Linked DNA regions of Homo sapiens: regions 2, 3 and 4 are each linked to region 1. The links are contacts of gene promoters, found by promoter capture Hi-C in human tissues and cell types (Jung and others, 2019). All regions are on one chromosome and are shown on one strand. Each heading gives the region's core, a stretch centred on a gene start or on the middle of the fragment in contact. The rest is flanking DNA. Distances are from core to core; before and after follow the strand shown.

Region 1 (6,440 bases), core at 99-2,598:
CAAATGTGACACTCTGAACCTCTCTGGTTTAGTATTTGATAGCCCAACAGGGTGACTATATTCAATAAAGATTCAGGCTGGGTGCAGTGGCTCCTGCCTGTAATCCCAGCACTTTGAGGGGCCAAGGCGGGAGAATCAGTTGAGCCCGGGAGACTGAGACCAGCCTGGGCAACACAGTGAGACACCGTTTCTAGAAAAAATAGAAAAAAGCCAGATGCGCGCCTGTAGTCCTAGCTACCCAGGAGGCTGAGGTGGGAGGATTGCTTGAGCTCAGGGGTTGGAGGCTGCAGTGAACCCTGATCCTACCACTGCACTCTAGCCTGGGAGACAGAATGATACCCTCTCTCAAAAAAAAAAAAAAAAAAAAAAACAAACTGTACATTTAAAAATAACTAAGAGTAACTGGATTATGGTTGAATGCTTGTGGTGATGAGTATCTCATTTACCCTGATGTAATTATTACACATTTATACCTCTATCAAAATAGCTCATATACCCCATAAACATACACACCTACTATGGACCCACAAAAATTAAAAATAAAAAAGAAAAGCCTCTTTGGTCCACTCAGTCCACCACCCGTATTAGAATGTAAGAGTTTTTTTCCTTGGGAAAAGTGTCCGACAGAACCAAGGCTCGGTAAAGGATACTAATAATGTAATAATATAATATTAACAAACATCTACTGAGCTTTAAATACGTGGCAGGCACTGTGCTGTGCACTTTATGTGCATTATCCAAATTAACTCTCAGTAATTCCAGGAGTTCTTATCACCGGGGTCTGTGGAAGAGGAAATGGTGGTTTACGGCAATTTCCGAATGTCGCACAGTAGAAAGTGGACCAGCAACCAGGGTTGCAGATCCCAAAGTCCGGGATCTTCACCATTTCACCCAACCGCCTTAGAGACCTCCCAGCAAAAGGTCTAAGCACGAATGCTCCAGAAAACAGGTCCAGGTCACGCGTGCCTTCTCCCTTTCCCTCTGGGCTCGACAGTGGTGCACAGAGCGACTAGGGAGTGGGGGCCGCGGTTATTTCATTAGAAAAGCTCTGGAGCCCCGGGAGCCCTTCGTCCCAGGCGCACTTGCCCTGCAAGCCCTTCTGGAAGGCGGCAGCGTCCAGGCGGTCCAGCGCATCGAGCCGCGCCAGGCGCACCGAGATGCCCCCGAATCTGTCCAGCTCGCCCTGCAGATCGCACGCTCCAACTGGCGGATTCCGCACGTAACCCTGTGCGCCCGAGGCCCAGCGGTAACCCGCCGAAGGCCCGGGGCCGTAGGTTCGGGCAAGCATCGCGCGCCAGCGGCCCCAGCTCAGTGGCTGCCGCATCTCCACGCCGCTTAATTCGTCCGTTGCCCAAATGACCCCTCCGCGCTCCAGAGCGGAGATCGCGGCCGTACATTTTAGAAGAGTGCCATCAATACCCTCAGAGTTGAGCTGGGGTTACCACTCTGCAGAGCTATGCCAAGGAGACCGCGAAGTGGTCCACCAGCCCTTCTCAGCAATTTGCCCCGCTCCAGTTAAGCGGGGAAAACCTCCTCCCCCACCGCCACTCACTTATTTTGTTTGGTAGTTTAATTCAACAGACGTTGGTTTAGGGATGGGGAAGCCGGGAGGAGATGCAAAAACGTCCTGTTTTTCAGGAATTTACAATCTAAGTGGCAGTTCCGTTCCTGGAACCTATCTTCTTTCACAGATGCCGTTACAGCTGTTTCAAAGACTGCTGGTTTTGAAAACGCTCAGTCCCTCCCACCACGCTGTGCACTGCTGCGCTCCACTCAGGGGATTACGGCGCAGGGGCGGACCCTCGCTGACTTCTGCCCCGGAAGTTTTTCTCTCAGTTGAAGCGCGCACATTGAGTCGGCTTTTCTACTGCTTCGGCTAGGGTACCTTGTGACCATGTCTTCCAAGAAGAATAGAAAGCGGTTGAACCAAAGCGCGGAAAATGGTTCGTCCTTGCCCTCTGCTGCTTCCTCTTGTGCGGAGGCACGGGCTCCTTCTGCTGGATCAGACTTCGCGGCAACCTCCGGGACTCTGACGGTGACCAACTTATTAGAAAAGGGTAAAGAATTCCGGGTGGGAGACTAGAGGCCGAGGGGGCGCAACCTGAGGGGCGGGAGACTCAGTGATACTGACTTGGGGTGCAGAGACTTTTGAAAGTTGGGCGTGGCATGGGTCTGAGAGCGGCACAGAAGCGTGTAAGACTTCTGTATGTAAGAAGCATGCAAACGTAGCCGCGCCTGCACTGGAGAAGTTAGGCTGAAATGGTTTATCCGTGTCCAAGGTTTCTCTTTTGTAAATTATTTTGAATTTTTAAGTTGCACTTGAAACGCTTTGTCTCATTTAACATTAACGACACATTTAATTGCAAAATTGTTCATAACTAGCGAACATGGGATACTTATCCTAAAAAACTAAATAACCAATTCAGTAAAAATGTGGATCACTCTGCCTTTAGGAGTGATGATAGCATTTTCTTCCAGTACTACGCAGGTTATGATATTTAATAACTGCTAGTAACTGCACACTAGTGTTAGCAGTATATATAGCTCATCTAATTTCTACAGAAGCCGTGACCGATGGGTATAGTAATGACAGTTTTATAGAGGGAGGAAAGTTAACGTGATTCCATTCAGGCTACACAGGTGCTAAGTGGCAGAGCCGATATTTGAGTCCAGATGTGTTTGACTTAAAAGCCATTCCTAGATGACAGCTCCTTTGATTTGGGAGAACGTATTTATACTGAAAAGTCTTATAAATTGAATTAAAAATTGAAAATTTATATTTGATGTGTAATAGCTTTGAAAAATGGACCAGACTAGTGGCAAAAACTTTTATGTCTAATCAGACCTTAAAGACAATTTAGAGTTCACATGGTATTTTCACTCTGCCTTAGGTATCAGAGGACAACTTGTTCTGTCCTGAAGGTTCAACTTGTTTTTGAACTAGATCCTTCCCATTGACATGTAAACATGCTCATTTCTCTTCCATCTTAAATCAGAACAAAAGCTCCACATTTTCTTCCTGCAACCGTCTCTCTATCCATTGCCAAGCTTCTTAAATGGAGTGGTCTCTGCCGCCTCACCACTTACATACTCTCCCTAGCCTATTCCTCTTTGACTTCCACCCCATCATTCCATGGAAACTGTTCCTGGTGTGGTCTCCGAGCATCTCCGTGTTGATAAACCTTACGTGACCACAGCAACTTTTGGTATTGTTGACCATTCCCTCCTTCTCGAAACACTTAACTTCTTATGTGTTGTCAAACTTGCCTGGTTTTCTTCATCTTTGTTGATGTTTCATCATTTTTCTTTGCAGGCTCGTCCTCTTCCCTTGACCATTAAATGTTGAAGTTCGTCAATTCTTAGTCCAAAACCTTTTTTTTCCTCTCAATAAATCCTGTCTCCTTGGCAAGTTCATCCAGTGCCCAGAGTTTCCCATCTATAGTCTCTTCAGTGTCAGATTTATATTTGTAAATCTTTTGTTTTTGCGCCTTGATGTGGTTGCCTTTTAGCCAAATGCTTCTCAAGCTCTCTGTGGTGAAGACTTTAAAATTTATAATAGGTCACAGATCAGCACTTTTCTAAAATACAGTAAAAATGATTTTCTAGAAAAATAAGGAAAAATTTTTATTAAACAGATGTGAAATTACTCTGTAAATTTCAATAAAAGCTTCTATATACTTATTCTCCTGTTTTGTACTTGTCATGAAGCAGTAACAAATCGTTGTGGGTCATATTTTGAATAGCACTGTACAATAACTCTTCTCATGAGTGTCCCAAAGATACTTCAGGACTAACTTCATGAGCCCGTTATTTCCTCCAACAAAATAAACTTCAACTCTGTTCAGTTTTTCCCGCTGCAAAATTCAGAAACCTAAGAGTCATCCATGACTCTCCCCCCCATATCTCACATACCTAGTCCACCACTAAATCATGTTTATTACCTAAATATTTTACATATTCCTCTTCTGCATGCCATTCCCACTGTTTCTACCTTAATTTCAGACACCATCATCTCTCACCTGGACTGCTACAACAGCCTTTTGACTGATTTTCCAGCTTCCAATTTTGCCCCTTATTCCTTTTCCATTCTGCAGCCAGAATGATCTTGTAAGATGAAGATCTTGTCATGACATTGCTTTTCATCCCTTTCTGGGCTCCCACTGCTGTCAGAGTAATGACCAGCATCTTGATGCAGCCTATTGCACTATTGTCCTGGGTGGTCTTGACCTTCTTTACATGGCTTCCCTATGTCTCCACCACTCTGCCTATACTCTCCTGAGGATGCGCCATACCCCCTTCTGCCCAGGAACTTTGTACATGCTGTCCTCTTTGCTGAGAATTATCTTTTTCTTCTCCTCATTTAGTTAGTTCCTACTCTTCTTTCAGACCTGATCTTAACATCACTTCCTTTGAGAAACATTCTCTTATTTGAAATTAGGTCAGATCCCACATGGCTCTCCTGGCACTCTAAGTCATTTTTTCATTGTATTAATCTTAGTTTATTATTTTACAGCTATCCACTGATTGTTTAATAACTCACTCATCCTACAAGGCTATAAACTCTGTGAGACCAAGGACTTGTGAACAAAAGTGCCTAGCATAGTATCTTTCATATAGTAGGCACATAGTACATATTTGCTGAATGAATAAATGAAGGGTGGATGGTTGTTTGAAATTATCTTTACTATCTTGTTAGTTAATGTGATACTTAAGGTGCTCAATAAATGTGAAAGTAGTTAATGGGGAAATTAGATGTTGACATATTTTTAAAGTATTGGAGGAGTGAGGTGAGAAGGGAACTGTGTGGACAACTTGAGTAGACCTATATAGTGTAAGCAGAGAACACGTTGGTGATGTTTTGGAAAATGAGACCAGTGGCTGGGAATTTGAACATGATTACCATTGAAAGACAAGGTGGAGAATAAATCCTGGGACATGGAGAATGTGCTGGATAGGGTGGAAGGAGAAGAAGAAAACTAAAGTCTTGGGAAGGACTGAGAACACTTGTGTGGTAATTGTCAAGAGGGAAAGATAGTTCATTGAGGTTTAGGAAGAAAGAGGCAGGAACTGAATATTATGAGATCATCTAACAGCAGTATGCTTTACTGTTAATGACCAGCAAACAATGTAAGAGAACTAATGCTCATTGGAAGGTTGAATTTCTGTCCAGCTTCTTGTATTATGCAGTATGTGTTCATTTCGTTTTATACTCAGTGCTGTTCATCTTAGCTCTGTGAGATGCTTTGTTTTTCTAGATTTGCACCTCATATAAGAAGGAAAAGAAATGTGTTGGGGAGTTGTTTTGTAGTGACAGAATAATGTAAATCATATGGGTACCTTATGGTTTTCCTTTCCTTGATTTAATTTCTTTTTTATTACAGAATATCTGTTTTCTGATTATTAAGGAAAACTTAGGTAGAGCTCTGTGATTATGGTATATATGTTTACAATAAATTTTATAATGAAGTTGTGACATTTTTAAATTCTCTAAGTGTTTCATAGATTTTGTGCTGAAAAGAAAACCATTGTATACTTATTTACTACATTTATTCATTTTATGGCTATTTATTGTGCAACTGCTATATTTAATGCACTGTAAGCATTGGAGATACAGAGAGAAATAGGACCCAATTCCTGCTTCAAAGCAGTATACAATTAAGGAGAAAGACTAAAACAAATGAATATTATGGTAAATGCTATTAACTGGCAGCACAGAGTGCTGGAGGAATTAGAGGAGGGACACCTAACTAAATATGGAGCTTGGTGGGGGTGGGGTGGATAGAAAGGAGTGGAGATGACAGCACATCATTTTCAGAGGTGTTGTTAACTGGCCTGAATTCTGGACCCCCTTTTTCAGCCAAAAGTTGAAATCACTAGTGGTGTGTGTTCGTATAAGGAAGACGACTTCTGTTACTCTCTTTACGTATTCTTGGTAATACAAAAGAAAAAGATCTGGTGACCATAATGTGGGGCAGAAGTAGAAACATAACTTAATCCTCTAGAGCCAGATAGATGTGCCAGTTCCCAGTTCAATCCTTTGAATACTAGTAGCTGACTCAACTTTGAACTTAAAGCTCAGAGACTCTCTTTTGCAATTATGTTTACTTCTTAATGAAATTAGAGACTCAGAAAAAAAGAAACCAATACTCACCCCATAAAACATCTTCTTTTTAGTTAATACTTAATATGTTGCCAGTAGACCCTCAAAAGCATTTGATTTTAAATCTGTTTTGTTATAACAAAAGTTGGAACACTAGTTTCTCCAGGGTATGGTAAGTACATTCATGTGGTTATATGGTTAGAGTATTTTTATTTACTGCAAAAGAAAGCATGCCTTAACTTCTGTTACAAAGTAGTACAAAAATAATTTTCTTTTCCTTCATAGTAGATGACAAAATTCCTAAAACATTCCAGAATTCCCTTATTCATCTTGGACTCAA
Region 2 (6,899 bases), core at 3,390-5,889, 1.0 Mb before region 1:
CTACTTGTCAAAAGGTTCCTCTTTGATCAAGTTCTAGTTAATAATCCTGATGATTCTTAGTAACTCCAGGCAATTCCTAGAGTTATTAATATTTGGCTCTTTATCAAAGCCCACCTACAAGGAAATGCACAGGTTTCCACTGACTGGTGCATAGTTTCCCATCAACAATTTTAATTAAAAAAGAAAGTCTCATCTCCCAGGACAGGCGATGTAGGTTCAATTTCCCCCAAATCCCTGCCTTTGCCCCCAGAGTGCACCCAGTGTAAAGTCCACTGATGGCTGCACTGGCAGCTGCCTCCGCATCACCATACATGCGTACTTAACGACCCACAGACAGAGGTGGTGAGAATAAATTTATGAATATTAGATTTGAAATAATTAACTGAGTTATTATGTTGAGATTCTAAGCCTCAATGTGATGGGTATTAGAAAGCTAGGCTTTTGGGAGGTAATTAGATCATGAGGGAGGAGCCTTCATGAATGAGACTGGAGCCCTGATAGGAAGAGGCAGGAGAGCTCGCTCTTTCCACCATGTGAGGATACAATGAGAAGTCAGCAGTCTGCAACCCAGAGGAGAGCCCTCATCAGATCTTCACTATGCTGGCATCCTCATTTTGGATTTCCAGCCTCCAGAACTGTAAGAAATAATTTTTTTTTTTTGAGATGGAGTTTCTCTTTTGTTGCCCAGGCTGGAGTGCAATGGCACAATCTCGTCTCACCACAACCTCCACCTCCCGGGTTCAAGTGATTCTCCTACCTCAGCCTCCCAAGTAGCTAAGATTACAGGCATGTGCCACCATGCCTGGCTAATTTTTTGTATTTTTAGTAGAGACGGGGTTTCTCCATGGCGGTCAGGCTGGTCTCAAACTCTCAACCTCAGGTGATCCGCCCGCCTCAGCCTCTGAAAGTGCTGGGATTACAGGCATGAGCCACCACGCCTGGCCGAGAAATAAATTTCTGTTGTTTATAAACCACCCAGCCTATGGTACTTAGTTACAGCAGCCTGAACTAAGAAGCATATTTTATCATGCGAGTTCCTTTCCATTCAGTTTTCAAAATCCCAGGTCCTGATTTTCAGTAGCTGCTAGTTGCTAAGGATGTATTAGATCTTCTCTCCAAACCCAGGATTTTGTCACTTTTCCAAGGTTCTAAGTTTTGAAAACAGCATTTCATAGACCAATGCAATCATTATTTGAACTCACGAATATCAAAGTTGAAGGCTTCCTGGGTATATGTGACAACTTTCTAGGATTCTTGTTGAGAACTTCTCCAAACTTCCACTTCTGCTCCTGTACTATATTTAGATCATTTCCTTCCTGCTTCACCTCTCCCTCTATGGTCCCTAAATGTCCTTCATTCATTCATTCATTTATTCACTCATCAAAATGTCTTAAGCCCCTCCTATGATCCAGGCAGTATATTGGGCAAGTGTATTGGTACAAGAAGATAAAAATGGAAGCATCAGAGTTGAATTAAGTGATAAGAGGTCATTGTTCTAGGGTACACAGTAAGCTTTGAATAGACACAAAATAAGCTATTATAACTGAGACTTCAACTCATAGGCTTGTCAAGATGCCTAATCAGAATTTAAAAGAGTCTTAATTTGAATGTTGGTACAAGTATCTTGATATTTGGAGGATCTGCATTTGTGGGAAGTTAGACAGATATAAATAAAAGGCATCCCTGGTGGCTGCAGCCAGGCTAAGCTTAGGACAGATAATGGTGCATTCAGGGTAAACTACAGGTGGAGCATATAATGTCATTAAATCAGATTACCACTTAGGAAATCAACAATGTAGTTTTTAGACCAACAGTTTCTGTAGGAAACAAAATTCCCATGAAGTTAAGAGACAGGTGGGCATGTGTCTATATGGAATTGATGGACAAATTTCCCTTTTGTGAGTGTCTGGTAGCTATCGTTTGAATGTGTCTCCTCCAACATTCAGGTGCTGTCAATGTGGTAGAGTTAACAGGTGGGGCCTTCAAGAGGTGATTAGGCCATGAGGGCTGCTCCCTTGTTAATGGTATTAAGACGCCTATAAAAAAGACTTCATGCAGCATTCAGCTAGCTTGCTCTTCTACTCTTCTGCCATGTGAGGACGTAGTGTTCCTCCCCTCTAGAGGATGCAGCCCTCACCAGACTACCAAACCTGCTGGTGCCTTGATCTTGGACTTCCCAGCCTCCAGAACTATGAGACAAGAAAGTTTTGTTCTTATAAGTCTCTCCATCTCAGGCATTCTATTGTAACAACACAAACGGACTAAGGCACTAGTCGTTCTTAGGTTTTAAACTCTTGAGGACAGAAATATTAATGTTATAGCATATCTCCCTTTCCTACTCCTCCTCCTTGGACTAATTTTTAAATTTGAAGATGTGCTTTATGTCATTAATTACATATTTATAAAGATTGCACAGCTTCAAAGACTTGATGGACTCAATCCTTCCCATATGGCATATATGTGATGGTCAATCTTTGACTTGATGTAACCTGTACTACAGTGCAAACACTTACTCTACATTAAGTAGTAACCAAAATTGTGGGTGTTTGCATTTTGCCTGTTACACTTTAAAATTCAGCTTAACAGGTCTATTTCCTATGCTTCTAATTCTACTCTTTTTTTTGAGATAATTATACACGACTTCATGGATTCTGTCGATTCCATTTAATCCACACAAACAGATTTTCCTCCAATGATGTAAAATCCTAATGCAAGTACACAAGGAGCATTTCAAAAAAGAAAGTAAAGCCAGTACAATAATAGCAAGTGAAGGCAAAAAAGCTAATCCCTTTAGGAGATGAGTTTTGGTCTTTTCAATGACTTCGAAATAGGGCAGTGACCTTTATACCTGAAAAGTGTTTTACCTCCTGAAAAATCTCCTTATGTCACTACACCAGTTATGCCCAACTGGATAACATTTGTATGCTGTTTCCTAACTTCAGTGGACCAGCAAATTGAAGTCATAACAAAAATAATACCCTTATTTTGAGTTTTCTGATTCAAAGAGAGAATGCTTGACACAAGAAAATCTCAATCTTTCAATTGGACAATCAGCATTGAGAACAACTGAAATGTTTTTTCTTGCCAAATAACTAATAGATTATAAACTGAACCACTGATCAGGGCAGGCTAGGGAAAACAATCAAATTTTAAACTTAAAAATTAATTCATGTTACACTGTTTTTCATCAAATCAGCCTTCACAAGAACTGTCTTCATGGGAATACTGTTGTGTAAAATCATGGTAGGAACTCTGGATTTGTTTTTAATGATACTGTTAGAGCCACAATTCATACAATTTAAAGGAACATATTCTTGTAAATAAAAACTAGGCAATTCAACTTCTTTTAAAAACTCAATGACTTGTGAAATATAAACCTAAAACTTATATTGCACAGGTTTTCTGGATTTTCAAACTTGCTGAGTGCAAAATGCTCTGTTATCTCTTGGTGCCTGGGGAAGACCAGGACAAGAGGCCACACAGTGCAGGACACAGGACTGTGCCGGCCAGCACACCCGTTCCAACGTCTCAGTGGTGTATTTACCACTCTCTCATTGCATTTCTTTAATTCTGGGCTTCCCCTGCACACTTTTTGCACAGAAAGTGGATACACAATGGATGCTTTTATCCTGTTTATACTGCTGCATGTTTCTTTTTAGGATGGCTTTTCTACATTTAAATCTAATCCTACTATGGAGGAAATATTAATAGGAGAGCAGAAACGAAGAACTCAGGAAATGTTCTCCTTCTCTTTCTGAGAGCCCAGTTTTCCAGATTCAGTGGTCTACCAAGCTCTAGTATCTTTTGTCAAAAACTTTCTCAAAATAGACATAGCTCACGGTGAAGTAGGTAGAACTTTGGTTATTTCTATGGTGGGGAGTGGATTAATGTTCAGCTGCACATCACAGAGCAGGATAGAGGTAGAGTCAGAATTAGAACTCAAGACTTTTGGTGGGGGGCAAATAGTCCATTATTCTAATTAAACAAAATTAGTGTTTTTGCCTAAAATTTAATTTTCTTGTACCCATTTTCAGAAAATCAAATTTCATCTTCCAGTGTATTCCATTCTCTTTTCAAAGAATAATATAGGTATTTCTATAAATAGTAATAGTGTTCACTATCCTTCCAGTTTTAAAATTTACCTTACAGACCCCTTAAAAATGATTTTAGGCTGGACGCAGTGGCTCACACCTATAATCCTAGCACTCTGAGAGGCTGAGGTGGGCGGATCACTTGAGGTCAGGAGTTCAAGACCAGCCTGGCCAACATGGTAAAACCCCGTCTCTACTAAAAAAACAAAAAATTAGCCAGGCATGGATGATGGGTGCCTGTAATCCCAGCTACTCGGGAGGCTGAGGCAGGAAAATTGCTTGAACCTGGGAGGTGGAGGTTGCAGTGAGCCAAGATCTCGCCACTGCACTCAAGCCTGGGAGACAGAGTGAGACTCCATTTCAAAAAAAAGAAAAAAAAACAGATTTTAGGATGAATAATCTTCAAAATCCATTCCCTGTTAGTAAAGATGCAGGCAGATGGTTGCTCTTTTACTATCAGCATTGAGAATTGTAAATTTTTATTCTTTGTTAGTTTAAGAGAAGGAAAATGGTATTTGTACATTAGTATACGTTTATCACTAAAAGGTCTGAAAATTTTAAATATGCATGTTAGCCATTTGAATTTTCTCTTCTGTGACATGCCTATTCAAATCTTTTGCTGATTTTTCTACAGGGCCCTGGATGTTTTCCTTACAAATTTGTTTGAGTTCTTGGGATATTAAGAAGATCAATCTTTTGTGAGATACAATCGAAAAAACATTTTTCCTAGTATGCCCTTCACTTTTTTGTTTATAATCTTTCTGATGTCATACAGAGGTTTTAAATTATATGTGGCCAGATTATTTGCATTTTTGCTTGGAGATTTCTTCGCTTTTATATGAGAAAGTCCTTTCCAACATAAACATTAAATTCACGGTCATGTATCTCCTATTCTGGTGTTTTATATATTCATTTTCTGGATTAACTGTCCTTGAGTTCTGTAAGGCCTGTGTTGAACTCATGCCTTGATTTCTAGGAAAGACCAGATCTCTGGGAATCCTGAGCCCAGTTAGAAGACAATAGACTCAGAACCAGAGCTGGGAGTAGGTCTTGGGCAGAGGGTAGAAAAAAGACTTCCTGGCCGGGCGCGGTGGCTCACGCCTGTAATCCCAGCACTTTGGGAGGCCGAGGCGGGCGGATCACGAGGTCAGGAGATCGAGACCATCCCGGCTAAAACGGTGAAACCCCGTCTCTACTAAAAATACAAAAAATTAGCCGGGCGTAGTGGCGGGCGCCTGTAGTCCCAGCTACTTGGGAGGCTGAGGCAGGAGAATGGCGTGAACCCGGGAGGCGGAGCTTGCAGTGAGCCGAGATCGCGCCACTGCACTCCAGCCTGGGCGACAGAGCGAGACTCCGTCTCAAAAAAAAAAAAAAAAAAAAAAAGACTTCCTGAGTCTCATATGCGGCCAATATTGGCTTACAATTAGATAAGAATGGTTTCCTTGGTGGAATTATGGGTTGATTTGAATAAATATGAGTTTATTATGTTATCAGGGGGTGGGGGAGTCCATAACATATAAAGTTACTTTGAAATCCCAATGGCTTGCATATGGCTGTGGACTACCTCTGTGCCAGAGTGGGCAGGGTTTGTGCATCATTATAACCCAAGACGTGGTTTTGCTTGGAGACTAGAAATGAGATGGTGGGAAAAGGAAGCAGCAGGAGTGGGTGGGGTGATATTTTTCCTCCTGTGAGAATGAAGATGGGTGAGTGTTGACTGAAAACGAAGGAAGCCTTTGTTTTTTGGGTTTTTTTTTGTTTTTTTTTTTTTTTTCGAGTCGGAGTCTCGCTCTGTCGCCCAGGCTGCAGTGCAGTGGCGTGATCTTGGCTCACTACAAGCTCCGCCTTCCGGGTTCATGACATTCTCCTGCCTCAGCCTCCCTAGTAGCTGCAACTACAGGTGCCTGCCACCACGCCCGTCTAATTTTTTTGTATGTTTTTTAGTAGAGACAGGGTTTCACCATGTTAGCCAGGATGGTCTCGATCTCCTGACCTCGTGATCCACCTGCCTCGGCCCCCCAAAGTGCTGGGATTACAGGTGTGAGCCACCGTGCCCGGCCATGAAGGAAGCCTTTGAAAGGAAGAAAGAAAGGAGAAATTGGGGCTTTGCAAGTATTCTAGAATAGAATTCTTACACACATTTATTATTCTAGAACAGAATTCTTACATACATTTATTATTCTAGAATAGAATTCTTACATACAGTTATTGAGTGAAGATTCCAAATCAAAGACTCTAATTAATACTCCTTTTATAGCATAAAACAAACAAAACCAGAAGTTTGCAAAAGTCCTAAATCTCCTTACAGTTCTAACTTTTTTGTTGTTGCCTGATGGTTGACTGATACCAATTTATTACTAACGACACCTCATACTTTGTAACCTACATGCCAATTTATTTAAAATTGACATGCAGGAAGACATAAACTCTGCAAGGCAGTTTAGTTGACTGAAGCACAAGTGTAGATGAGGTGTCTCTGCTCATATAACACTTCCAAAGCAATGATAAAAAACCAGTGACAATTGAAATCAATTCTCTCAGGTGCCAAAGAAAAGAGATACATATTGCAGGATGTGTGAATATATGTCTAGACAATTTTCTAAAAAACAGTTTACTATCAATCTTGCTCAAAACTATCCTTTTCCCTCAATATATTAATAACAAAACCTCAACTAGCAAGAATGCTCTGAGAGGGCAATCTAGCCAATTTAATTATCTTGTAACATACTTTCCTTGAAAAGTTGTTTTATTTCAATCTTTACTGAGAATCTTCACATTTGACTATCTTATGAAGTAGAGAAGAGATCT
Region 3 (5,981 bases), core at 2,929-5,428, 1.2 Mb after region 1:
TTTTAAAAGGAAACTTTTAAGGAATATATAAAATATTATTTAAAGATAATTACATGTTGTGATGTACACCCTCTACCTTTCTAAATCATCAGGAAGACCTACAAAGTTTATGTTATTTTGTTGGGATTTTTGCCTAAGTATAAGAGAGAAAGACCAAAATCCATTTCTTGCTGCCAAAAAGTTTAAGACATAACTAAAATAATTTAGCACAAGATCTGAGTTAGAAGTGTGACTATGTGAAGTCAGCCCTATTAATTTTCATATATATCTCGAAGAGAAGGTTGGGTTTACTGCAGGACCCAAACTAGGACTTCCGGCTACTCTTATCCAATATATTGCCAGGTTGATTCAGTTGATATCTGCTAACAGCAATACCTAATATTTTGCCTTTCATGCTAATACATAAATATTTATTCATATATAATACATATATTTTTATATAGAGAGAGGGTATTGGAATAAAAAAATGTGTGTTAGAACTAGGGCAGCAAGAATGGAAACAGAATTTAAAAAAATCACTGTTACGGCAGCCATTCTGAAGATACAGAGGGATGATCAACTTAAAATTTAATAATCCCTATGGCTTTGGCAGTTTATTATATCAGCAAGGGTTCACATGTACGGTATTGTTTAATATTATAACTGCATATATTGTTATTGCAAAGAATATTAGAATATATTATACCTATTTTAAAAATTTGTTATATTCACTTTAATGAATTAATTCCTTACAAAAAAAGAATTACTAAATTGATCATGTTCAATGATTTTTCTAAGTAAGTCTAAGAGTATTTGACTGATTCTTCATTGCTTTCCTAAAGGATTTACTCTGTCAAGTCATATAAAATATAAAATTTCTTTAGTTGTCAGGGTTAGTTCAGATTCTTTACTCTGTATGAGTAACAGATTGCAGTGTGTTTGTTCTTCATACCCATTTGTTTGTAGTGTACATGTGAAAAGTATTAATGCATAATGAGAAATAGTACAAGTACTTTCTTTTGCAGGTATCTTGATAATTTAAGAACTTCATAGGTAAATGAAGATTTAAAATATTAAAATTTGGGGGAAAATTAAATATACATTTAATACATTTTATTTACACAGTATTTGAATATATTCTTCTTACAAAATATATTTTCAAATTATCTATAAATCCCCTCATATCATCACCCTCAATCCTGAGTTCTGGGGAAAAAAATCAGTTTACTTTCTCATTATTTGTATATATAGATTGGACCATATGAAATTGTCTTCCTTGTAGATTAAAAATAGGTGAATATCAGCAATTTCATGTGTTTCAATGTAGCATTTTAATATTTGCATTTAAAAAATAAATACCATTATACTCTACTTATCTAATAGAATTTGAGTTTTTGATCAAATGTCTTAGAAAACAATTCTTTTAATTAATACATGATATCCTGAGGCATAAAATAAGCCATTCTCTCAATAACTAACCTTTGGGTTGTGCTACTTTTTTCACTGTAACTTATTTTACATATGTCCTTGAACAAATGAGTAAGTGTTTCCCTAAGGTAAATTCTAGAGGTAAAACTGTTAGGTCCAAAAGAATACACATTCTTTTTACTAGTTATTGCCAAATGCCAGTTCCTATTTAAAATCTCACCAAAATGTGAAAAGCAAATGACCTTGCTTTTCTAAAACCTTACTACTTTATTTTCCTGTTTAATTTTTTGTCCTCATAAGTTAAAAGATAGTTGTTTGTTTTAGTTTATGTTCCTCCTATTATTAGTGATATTAAGTATCTATACTGTTTACTTAGACACTCGTGTAAATTGTACACACACACGTCTCTCTTACCTAAGAAATCCAAGACTTTTAAATATGAGCATTTTCTAAACATTCCAAACAGTTATGTATAAGGAGGAAATGGCTCCTACATGTAATGTCACTACTTTTACAGATGATTTAAGCTGTTCAATTCTTGGCAAGTGTTATTTTCAACCTTCCTTCCCCCTTCCTCATATAGGATCAGTTATAATTTATCAGCTCAGTAAGAGTTTCAGTCTTAAATGTGTTTCCTAAAGATGACTTATTTCTTCTTTAAAAAAAGGACTTTTTACTCTGGGCCAGAATATAATGACTGAAGTTTATATTCACCCTGTATTTACTTTAAAATGAACTTTTTATAAATTTTGATAACTTTTCTAGAAATGCATTAACATGGAGATGTAACACAAACTTTCTGACTCAAACCACTTAGACAGGCAGGTTTGGCATCCTCCTGAAACTGAATAGGTATGGAAACTGTGCTTCTTGACCCCTAAACATTCTATCTCAAGTCTGTCTGTTGCTAGTACAAAGACAGGGGCTTCACAAATTTTATACCTGAGCCAGGCTTCAAAACTGGCTGGGAAAATGGAGTAAGAGTGACCTTTAGTGGCCACTTGGAGTAATCACAAAGTAATTTATGTCTCAAGGGGACGGATGGACATTCTGTTTGCATGACTTCTTAACACAGCAATGTAATAAGTTGGAACTGGCTAACCATGAAACATTTATTTGACTTTTTATGTCACTCTATTCTAACAGAAAATCAAAACCCTATGAGTCAGTGTTCAGACAGCTGAAAAGGTAAATTTTTAATTGGTAAATGGAAATCTAGTCACACCTATTAAAGTGACTTTGGGGCTTCAATGCCTAAATCCGCTCACAAACAGATTTGGAAAAGTACCATTTAATTGAGGCAAAAATCCTTTGCTTTCCATGGGTTGATAAAAGCCACCTGGCAGTCTTTTGAACCTCAGAACTAAGCAGCAGGGGGAGGAGTTATGTATTAGCACCATATCTGATCTTAGAAAAGAAAGACTCTCTCCCAATGAGAATGAAAGTCACTATTAATGGGAATTAAATGTTCAAAACGTATATTTTTCTTTTTGTCAGGAATATTAGTGCTTACTTCTTTTCTATAATTCCACCTTAAGATGTAGAGAGCATCTCCATAATTAAGACATTTCACTCATAAAACCTAGGTATTGCTTTCTTAAATACATAGTTTCTCTCCAATAGAAGCACTTTCTGGTGAAAGATATATCAAATGCTTTATTTCTAATAAACCTCAAATAAAAATGTGACTAAGCAGTCAAATCAGCTAGCTCTTCTACATCCTCCTGAGTTCAATTAGCCCCTGGAAACTCAGGTGTATTTGCTGAGCTTGTTGCAAGGATAGATCCCCCAAATAGAGAGAAGCTGTCTATGCATGCCCTTTCTTTTCTCCCACATTCAACAAGTGGGAAAATACTTTCTTCTCCCATGGAAAAGGGTGAGTGGGGGCTGGAAAGAAGTCACGAGGGTGATTCTTGGGAATAAGGTTTCCTTCTACATTATTACAGACAGCCCAAATCTAAAACAACAAACAACATTTCTAAGTATACATTTGAAAGATTCTCTCCTCATAGCACACATTTGTTTTTAAAAAGCAATTACTGTCTTAGTCACTGTTAACAGGGCACATTTACTTAAAAGATTTCACAGGAGTTGTCAGCATATTTAGATCACAGGCCTTTTTTTACAGGAAAGTGCACAGTTCATCTTTAGCTGCTAATATCTCAGAATATAGAATTCAAGACCAGAAATGATTGAAAAAGACAAAGATGATGTTTATATACTGGTAAGGAAACAATAAAGGAAGACATAACCATCATGAGGATGTATTCCATAATAAAACCTCAAAGTATATAACGTCACAACTAACAGAAATGCATGGAGAAATAGATATATTAACCATTGTAGTTAGAGATTTTTAACATTACCTTTCAGAAACCAAGAAATCAAACATAAGAAAAAAAGAAAAAAGGCAAACATAGCATATGTAAAAAACATAATGTGCAAGTTTAAACTATTAGATATTTATACAGCTGTAAACCTAACAAAGATAAAATATGCATTTTTATTATAAATTGATAATTCATAAAAATTGACTTCTACTATTGCTCAAAGGAATCTTCAATAAATTCCAAAAAAGCAAATAACATACTGACTAGGTTCTTTGGCCATAATATTATAAAATTAGAATGTAGCTAACAAAATTTTGTATTTATAAAAACAATAATATGTGTTTTAGATTTCAAAAAGGAAATAATGAGGAAAATTATAAAATATTTAAAACTTAAAGAAAATGCATGTATGACATAAATGGTACTTAAAAATTTGAGCTTTAGAAAGTAACATTCTTCAGGAAGTAAAAATTAACTCAAAAAAATAAGAGAGAAGAAAATAATAAAGAGCATTATAATCAAGAACTTGCTAGTAAAGTTGCATACTTATATACAGGGTAAATTATGGGAAAAAGTATTAAATGTCAAAAAGGTAGAAGAAGAAATAAAACACTCAAACAGAACAGTGCAATTGAACTGATAATCAAAGTGTTAGAGCCTCCCACAACTGCTCAAACCCAGATTGTTTTATATTTGACATTAATCAACATTTAAGAAATAGTTATTTTTTATATTATATGTGTTTCTAGAAATGAGAAAACTGCGAAAGCTGTCCACCTTATTCTACAGGGTTAGTAGAATCTTGATTTCACAACTAAGCAAGAACAAAAAACAGTAAGGATATTATTGGGATATTTGCCTTAGAAACCTAGAGGCAAATATCCAAAACAAAATATTAAATAAATAAATCTAACATATTAAAAAATATACCAAAATCAAATGGTATTTTTAATCCCAGAAATGAGAAGATGATAAACATGAGAAACTCTTTCAATATTAAAGCTCTCATTAATAAACTGAGAAAGAAAATATGAGGATTTTAAAAGATGCAAATAGTAATTTGATAAATTTTAACATATTTATAATAAATAATTAGAAATGTAGAAATAAAATATTCCCTAATTTGAAAGATATTTTATATCAAAGTACCAGTAAATAGCATCCTTAGTGGAGAAGCTTAAAATATTTCCTTTAACATCAAGGGTACACATAAAACAAAGTTATCCTCTATCATTGCCACTATTTAGCATAAGACTAGGTTTCATTCAACACTCAAAGAATTTAAAAAGAAGAAATAAGAGGTGTAAGTCCTCAAGGAAAAGAGGACTATATTATGTTCATACAGTATGATTACCTATAAAGAAAAACCAAAGGAATCATTAGAAAAAAATAGAATAAGAGCATTCAGCAAGGTTTCTGGGCACAGGATTGACTAAGAAAAAAAAACAGTAGCATTTATCTGTTCTACTAATAAGCAACTGAGAAATATAAAGTGTTCATAAATTTACTTAATAAAGAATATATGATACTTCTATGGAGAAAAAAATCTAAATTTCAGTAGAATAATGTGCAAAGAGTTTAAGAGACAGTTCACAGATGAAGATTGCAAAAGGTTAAAAAGTAAATGAGAGAGGCTCAAGCTCATTGGTAAATAAAATGCAAATAAAAGCAACAATTGTAGATGTAAAACTCTATAGAATTTTACCATCAGTTTAGCAGAATCTTGAAAGGTGAGATACTCATAGCTATATAGAGTTATAGGTATCCTCCATGCACTGTAGGTGGGAGTATAGATTCCTACCTTTCAGACAACCATTCTGGAGAATAACTTGGCAATATTTAAACAGAGGAAATGCATATTCCACTACTCACCAGTCTTGCTCCCAGATTAATATTCTATGGAAATAAAGGTTATATGTACAAATGGTGATATGCACAAAAATTTCCAGAATTTTTGGAATTTGAGCATACTTCTCTGATAGAATGGTTAGTGAAATAGTGTGGGTGCATGCTTTAGAATATTGTAGCAGCACTTGAAAGGCTCATACTGGATATATAAATAGAAACAATCATGGGTGAGTCTTAAAAACATAGTGATGAGTTAAGTAAAAAAATTCATATTTATATAAATTAAAATACATATATAAATACAAAATAGTAATACATATTTTATGAGAATTTGTACAAGAAAAAATACTACATCAAAAGCATTAGGAAAGTAGCTTACAATGGATGGTATGGCAT
Region 4 (6,155 bases), core at 1,175-3,674, 1.4 Mb after region 1:
CTGTGAATCCATCTGGTCCTGGACTTTTTTTGTTGGTAGGCCATTAATTATTGCCTCAATTTCAGAGCCTGTTATTGGTCTATTCAGTGATTCAACTTCTTCCTGGTTTAGTCTTGGGAGGGTGTATGTGTCCAGGAATTTATCTATTTCTTCTAGATTTTCTAGCTTATTTGCATAGAGGTGTTTATAGTATTGTCTGATGGTAGTTTGTATTTCTGTGGGATCAGTGGTGATATCTGCTTTATCATTTTTTATTGCATCTATTTGATTCTTCTCTCTTTTCTTCTTTTTTAGTCTTGCTAGTGGTCTATCAATTTTGTTGATCTCTTCAAAAAAAAAACAGCTCCTGGATTCGTTGATTTTTTGAAGGGTTTTTTGTGTCTCTATCTCCTTCGGTTCTGCTCTGATCTTAGTTATTTCTTGCGTTCTGCTAGCTTTTGAATTTGTTTGCTCTTGCTTGCTTCTCTAGTTCTTTTAATTGTGATGTTAGGGTGTCGATTTTAGATCTTTCCTGCTTTCTCTTGTGGGCATTTAGTGCTATAAATTTCCCTCTACACGCTGTTTTAAATGTGTCCCAGAGATTCTGGTACGTGGTATCATTGTTCTCATCAGTTTCAAAGAACATCTTTATTTCTGCCTTCATTTAGTTATTTACCCAGTAGTCATTCAGGAGCAGGTTGTTCAGTTTCCATGTAGTTGTCTGGTTTTGAGTGAGTTTCTTAATCCTAATTTGATTGCACTGTGGTCTGAGAGACAGTTTGTTGTGATTTTTCTTCTTTTACATGTGCTGAGGAGTGCTTTACTCCCAACTATGTGGTCAATTTTGGAACAAGTGTGATGTGGTGCTGAGAAGAATGTATATTCTGTTGATTTGGGGTTTGAGAGTTCTGTAGATGTCTATTAGGTCTGCTTGGTGCAGAGCTGAGTTCAAGTCCTGGATATCCTTGTTAACCTTCTGTCTCATTGATCTGTCTTATATTGACAGTGGGGTGTTAAATTCTCCCATTATTATTGTGTGGAAGTCTAAGTCTCTTTGTAGGTCTCTGCGGACTTGTTTTATGAATCTGGTGCTCCTGTATTGGGTGCATATATATTTAGGATAGTTAGCTGTTCTTGTTGAATTGATCTCTTTACCATTATGTAATAGCCCTCTTTGTTTCTTTTGATCATTTTTGGTTTAAAGTCTGTTTTATTAGAGACTAGGATTGCAACCCCTGCTTTTCTTTGCTTTCCATTTGCTTGGTAGATCTTCCTCCATCCCTTTATTTTGAGCCTATGTGTGTCTCTGCACGTGAGATGGGTCTCCTGAATGCAGCACACTGATGGGTCTTGACTCTATCCAATTTGCCAGTCTGTGTCTTTTAATTGGAGCATTTAGACCATTTACATTTAAGGTTAATATTGTTATGTGTGAATTTGATCCTGTCATTATGATGTTAGCTGGTTATTTTGCCCATTAGTTGATACAGTTTCTTCCTAGCATCGAAGGTCTTTACAATTTGGCATGTTTTTGCAGTGGCTGGTACCAGTTATTCATTTCCATGTTTAGTGCTTCCTTTAGGAGCTCTTGTAAGGCAGGCCTGGTGGTGACAAAATCTGTCAGCATTTGCTTGTCTGTAAAGGATTTTATTTCTCCTTCACTTATGAAGCTTAGTTTGGCTGGATATGAAATTCTGGGTTGAAAATTCTTTTCTTTAACCATGTTGAATATTGGCCCCCAATCTTCCCTGCTTGTAGAGTTTCTGCCAAGAGATCTGCTGTTAGTCTGATGGGCTTCCCTTTGTGGGTAACCTGACCTTTCTCTCTGGCTGCCTTTAGCATTTTTTCCTTCATTCCAACCTTGGTGAATCTGACAAGTATGTGTCTTGGGAATGCTCTTCTCAAGGAGTATCTTTGTGGTGTTCTCTGTATTTCCTGAATTTGAATGTTGGCCTGTTTTGCTAGGTTGAGGAAGTTCTCCTGGGTAATATCCTGAAGAGGGTTTTCCAACTTGGTTCCATTCTCCCCATCACTTTCTGGTACAGCAATCAAATGTAGATTTGGCCTTTTCACATAGTCCCATATTTCTTGGAGGCTTTGTTCAGTTTTTTTTTACTCTTTTTCCTCTAAACTTCTCTTCTCGCTTCATTTATTAATTTGATCTCCAATCACTGATACCCTTTCTTCCACTTGATCAAATTGGCTACTGAAGCTTGTGCATGCCTCATGTAGTTCTTATGCCATGGTTTTCAGCTCCATCAGGTCATTTAAGGTCTTCTCTACACCGTTTATTCTAGTTAGCCATTCGTCTAATCTTTTTTCAAGCTTTTTAGCTTCCTTGCTGTGGGTTCAAACACCCTCCTTTAACTCGGATAAGTTTGTTATTACCGACCTTCTGAAGCCTACTTCTGTCAACTCCTGAAAGTCATTCTCCGTCCTGTTTTGTTCTGCTGCTGGCGAGGAGCATTGATCCTTTGGAAGAGAAAGGGCACTCTGTTTTTTAGAATTTTCAGTTTTCTGCTCTGGTGTATCCCCATCTTTGTGGTTTTATATACGTTTGGTCTTTGATGATGGTGACCTACAGATGGGGTTTTGGTGTGGATGTCCTTTTTGTTGATGTTGATACTATTCCTTTCTGTTTGTTAGTTTTCCTTCTAACAGTCAGGTCCCTCAGCTGCAGGTCTGTTGGAGTTTGTTGGAGGTCCATTCCTGACCCTGTTTACTTGGGTATCACCAGTGGAGGCTGCAGAACAGCAAAAATTGCAGAACAGCAAATATTGCTGCCTGATCCTTCCTCTGGAAGCTTTGTCTCAGAGGGGCACTCAGCTGTATGAAGTGTCATTCGGCCCCTACTGGGAGGTGTCTCCCAGTTAGGCTACATGAGGGTAAGGGATCCACTTGAGGAGGCAGTCTGTCCATTCTCAGAGATCAAATTCCATGCTGGGAGAACCACTGCTCTCTTCAGAGCTGTCAGACAGGGACGTTTAAGTCTGCAGAAGTTTCTGGTGCCTTTTGTTCAGCTATGCTGAATGGAGTCTCATTCTGTTGCCCAGGCTGGAGTGCCATGGCACGATCTCGGCTTACTGCAAGCTCCACCTCCTGGGTTCATGCCATTCTCCTGCCTCAGCCTCTCAAGTAGCTGGGACTATAGGTGCCTGCCACCAAGCCTGGCTAATTTTTTGTATTTTTAGTAGAGATGGGGTTTCACTGTGTTAGCCAGGATGGTCTTGATCTCCTGACCTCATGATCCGCCCAACTCGGCCTCCCAAAGTGCTGGAATTACAGGCATGAGCCACTGCGCCCAGCCTAAAATTTCTTACTTATGAAGAAAAAACCTTTTAGCCAAGGCTTGCTTTAATATTTTTACCTTCGGTGCACTCAATCCAAAATTATCATGTCATCAATATTGTCTGATTTCAACTATGCTCTGCCTTGCAAGACTCACCTTAAAATCACTCATCCCAAGCCCTAAAGGTCTAAAAATATTATTCACTGAATTCTCCTTTCCAAGAAACTACTGTCCAGATTACATTGTCTCTTGATGAAGTAAGTTTCATAAACATAGCCTTATTTGATTAACAAATATTTTAAGTGATATTTTGGGGAGTCAATGATAATAGTAATAAAGACAAAAACTGGATGGCACAGAACATTTCTGCTGAAATTCCACAGGCCAGACGTTTGTTATTTGGACATATATAGGTCAAAATTTTAGTATTAGGTTGTGTAGATTTGTGCCTGATTAAAAGTGTATCATAATAGGAGAAAAAAGGATTCTGGGTGACTAGTAGTGATCTTTCACTAAACCTCTGATTATGGGAATATTCATAGTTATCATTCTTCCCACTCACTCACCATTTCCCAAGGAAGACTCAAATAATTCCTAGTCAATTATTATCCAGCCATGTTATTTGAGTGATATGCAGAATTTTCCACCAGGTATGGACAATGGATCAAGCAATGTATAAAATAATAGACAATTACCATGAATCTTTGCCTTCCGTATTTAGTAGTGGACCAGAAATAAGATAGCTATCAACTTTCCATTTTGAAAAAGGACAAGTAGAAAAATGACATTCATAATAATAAAGGGGTCCTAAGAAGCAGAAATTATGAAGATTCCCTGTCAAGGCAATAGAGTACTTATTTTGGTTAGCATCTGTATCTACTTTCTGGGAAGAACTTCCTTATCTGTTGTCCTCCATGAGATCTGAGGGACTTTTTCTTGTCTATTGTTGTCTTTGGCCACATTTGACGTGGCCATGCATACACATACACATGCATACACATTGCATGCATACACATGCATGCACATTGGAGAGTATACATGCTTGGGGGTTGCACAATCTTATTTTGCAGGTTGGAGATTCAGGGGTTTACTTAGGAGTAGGTTAATCATAAACATTTGTACTTTAGAGTGGCAATGTCTTTTTTAATACAAGTACCTAAAATCTAGTAGGCTTTCAGTCTATATGTTTGTAGTCAGTTTCATGTGACATTAAATACAGCCAAGGATCTTGCCTCCTCATAACTTTTAAACCCACCCAAATCCTTTTTAGTTACTGGCCTGTTAAGCTGGCTCATGTCTTTTCCTCAATTTAATAGCAACTACCTTGAGGCTATCTGAAGCAATAGGGATTGAAAAACAACTCATTTAATCTAATCTGTGATCTGGGCTGAGTTCCATTGTCTGGTCAAGATCTCTTGAGTCAGACAGAAGGCCCTCTAATAAAGTTCAGGTCTCAATCTTATCCCATTATGTTTAGGGGTTAGCAACCTTGGCTCTCCAACATTGTTTAAGGCTCAAAATTACTTGACTCACATCACAGTTTATTTAGATTACAGGATGCAGGCAAAGAGTTTACCTTATCAGAACACATTACTTTCCACATCTGCTTGAGAACCCCTCATCAGAATTTCTCTATTTCTCTCCAGTGATTTGTTTAAAAGATGCAAACTGTTAGCCAGCACACACAAATATTCTGATTTTTTTCTGATGAGTTCCACTAAAGTTATGGGCTCTCCGGACATTTGATTTGCTTTTTAAATGATCACAGGTAACAGTTTCACCACATTCAGTTAATGGTCATAGTATAATAAGTATCACTGGATTTCTAATCAGTAATTTCTGTATTCTCAACATCTGCTGCTTTCCTGCTAAGCCAAATTGCATAAATCTTCTATAGGTACTCTAGCATCCTCCTTGTACAAATATTTATTTTAAATAGATGTCAAATACAATTACTTTGTTTTTAAAAAAATAAACATTTATTTCTCTCTCATGTAATAGTCCAGATACAGGCAGTTGATCCAAGATGGATAGGCATCTCTGCCACATTGAACAAATGGCTTCTAGTTATGGGTTTAAGAAAGTTTTTCTGGCTCTCACTAGCTCCCAGCCACTTGAAAGGGAAAAGGCAACATCAAAGTACACACTCAGTTTTGTTTTTTGTTTTTTTTTTTGAGACAGCATCTTCCTGTGTTGGCCAGGCTATAGTGCAGTGGCACAATCATGACTCACTGCAAGCTTCACCCTTCCAGGCTCAAATGATCCTCCCGAATCAGCCTCTTGAGTAGCTGGGACTACAGGTACATGCCACCACACCTGGCTAATTTTTATATTTTTAGTAGATATGGGGTTTCACCATGTTGCCCAGGCTGGTTGGTCTTGAACTCCTGGGCTCAAGTGATCCACCCACCTTGGCCTCCCAAAGTGCTGGGATTACAGGTGTGAGCCACCATGCCTGTCCACACTCAGTTATTTCAAGGGCAAGATTCAAACATGGTGCATAACTCTTTTGTTCTGTAGTATTGTAGCATTTTTATTTAATTTGGGCTTGAGGTCTTTCTCTTGAGATTGGTTATAAACTCCAGCCTTGCCCTGACAGCATTCCAGGGTAGGTGGTCATGGATGTTTACAGTGTGGCTTTCACAGGATACTCCTTTATCCTGGTGAACAGCCTAATACCAAGGTGTATGACCTGTTGTTACTAAAATGAACTTGGGTCTGCTGCCCAGTGCAGTAAAGCGAAACACTGACATTGGGACTGCAATGAGGCATTTATTGCAGGACATCAAGCAACAAGAATCAGTTAGTTCATGCTTAAAACCTGAGATCCCTGATGGCTTGCACGTAAGGGTTTTTATAGTCAGGGAGGCAAAGGTCATAAATTAAT

Evidence for each region. The method cuts DNA at HindIII sites, captures the fragments that hold promoters and counts their contacts. A contact is called where the count stands out against the background at its distance.
Region 2: a fragment that was not itself captured here is called in contact with the fragment with the promoter of NUDT6 in region 1 in 1 of the 25 tissues and cell types used here (lymphoblastoid cells).
Region 3: a fragment that was not itself captured here is called in contact with the fragment with the promoter of NUDT6 in region 1 in 1 of the 25 tissues and cell types used here (mesenchymal stem cells).
Region 4: a contact is called between a fragment that was not itself captured here and the fragment with the promoter of NUDT6 in region 1, in 1 of the 25 tissues and cell types used here (mesenchymal stem cells).

Annotation. Positions count from the first base shown.
Region 1 is chr4:122,921,249-122,927,688 of GRCh38, forward strand. NUDT6 (nudix hydrolase 6) reads right to left here and starts at 1,349. Exons shown (of 5, transcript NM_007083.5): 1 at 1,087-1,349. The coding sequence starts at 1,324. AFG2A (AAA ATPase AFG2A) reads left to right here and starts at 1,830. Exons shown (of 16, transcript NM_145207.3): 1 at 1,830-2,057; 2 at 6,386-6,440. The coding sequence starts at 1,895. RefSeq lists enhancers at 1,493-2,029, 1,822-2,191. The HindIII fragment of the contact is 4,244 bases long and covers 1-3,357 here.
Region 2 is chr4:121,916,071-121,922,969 of GRCh38, forward strand. All of the region lies in intron 3 of TRPC3 (transient receptor potential cation channel subfamily C member 3), which reads right to left. Among named protein-coding and RNA genes, the nearest start is that of TRPC3, 33 kb to the right of the region's middle. The HindIII fragment of the contact is 6,061 bases long and covers 1,610-6,899 here.
Region 3 is chr4:124,109,652-124,115,632 of GRCh38, forward strand. All of the region lies in intron 2 of LOC105377407 (a long non-coding RNA gene), which reads right to left. Among named protein-coding and RNA genes, the nearest start is that of LINC02516, 450 kb to the right of the region's middle. The HindIII fragment of the contact is 3,459 bases long and covers 2,450-5,908 here.
Region 4 is chr4:124,271,977-124,278,131 of GRCh38, forward strand. The region is part of intron 3 of LOC105377406 (a long non-coding RNA gene); the gene reads left to right. Among named protein-coding and RNA genes, the nearest start is that of LINC02516, 280 kb to the right of the region's middle. The HindIII fragment of the contact is 3,439 bases long and covers 706-4,144 here.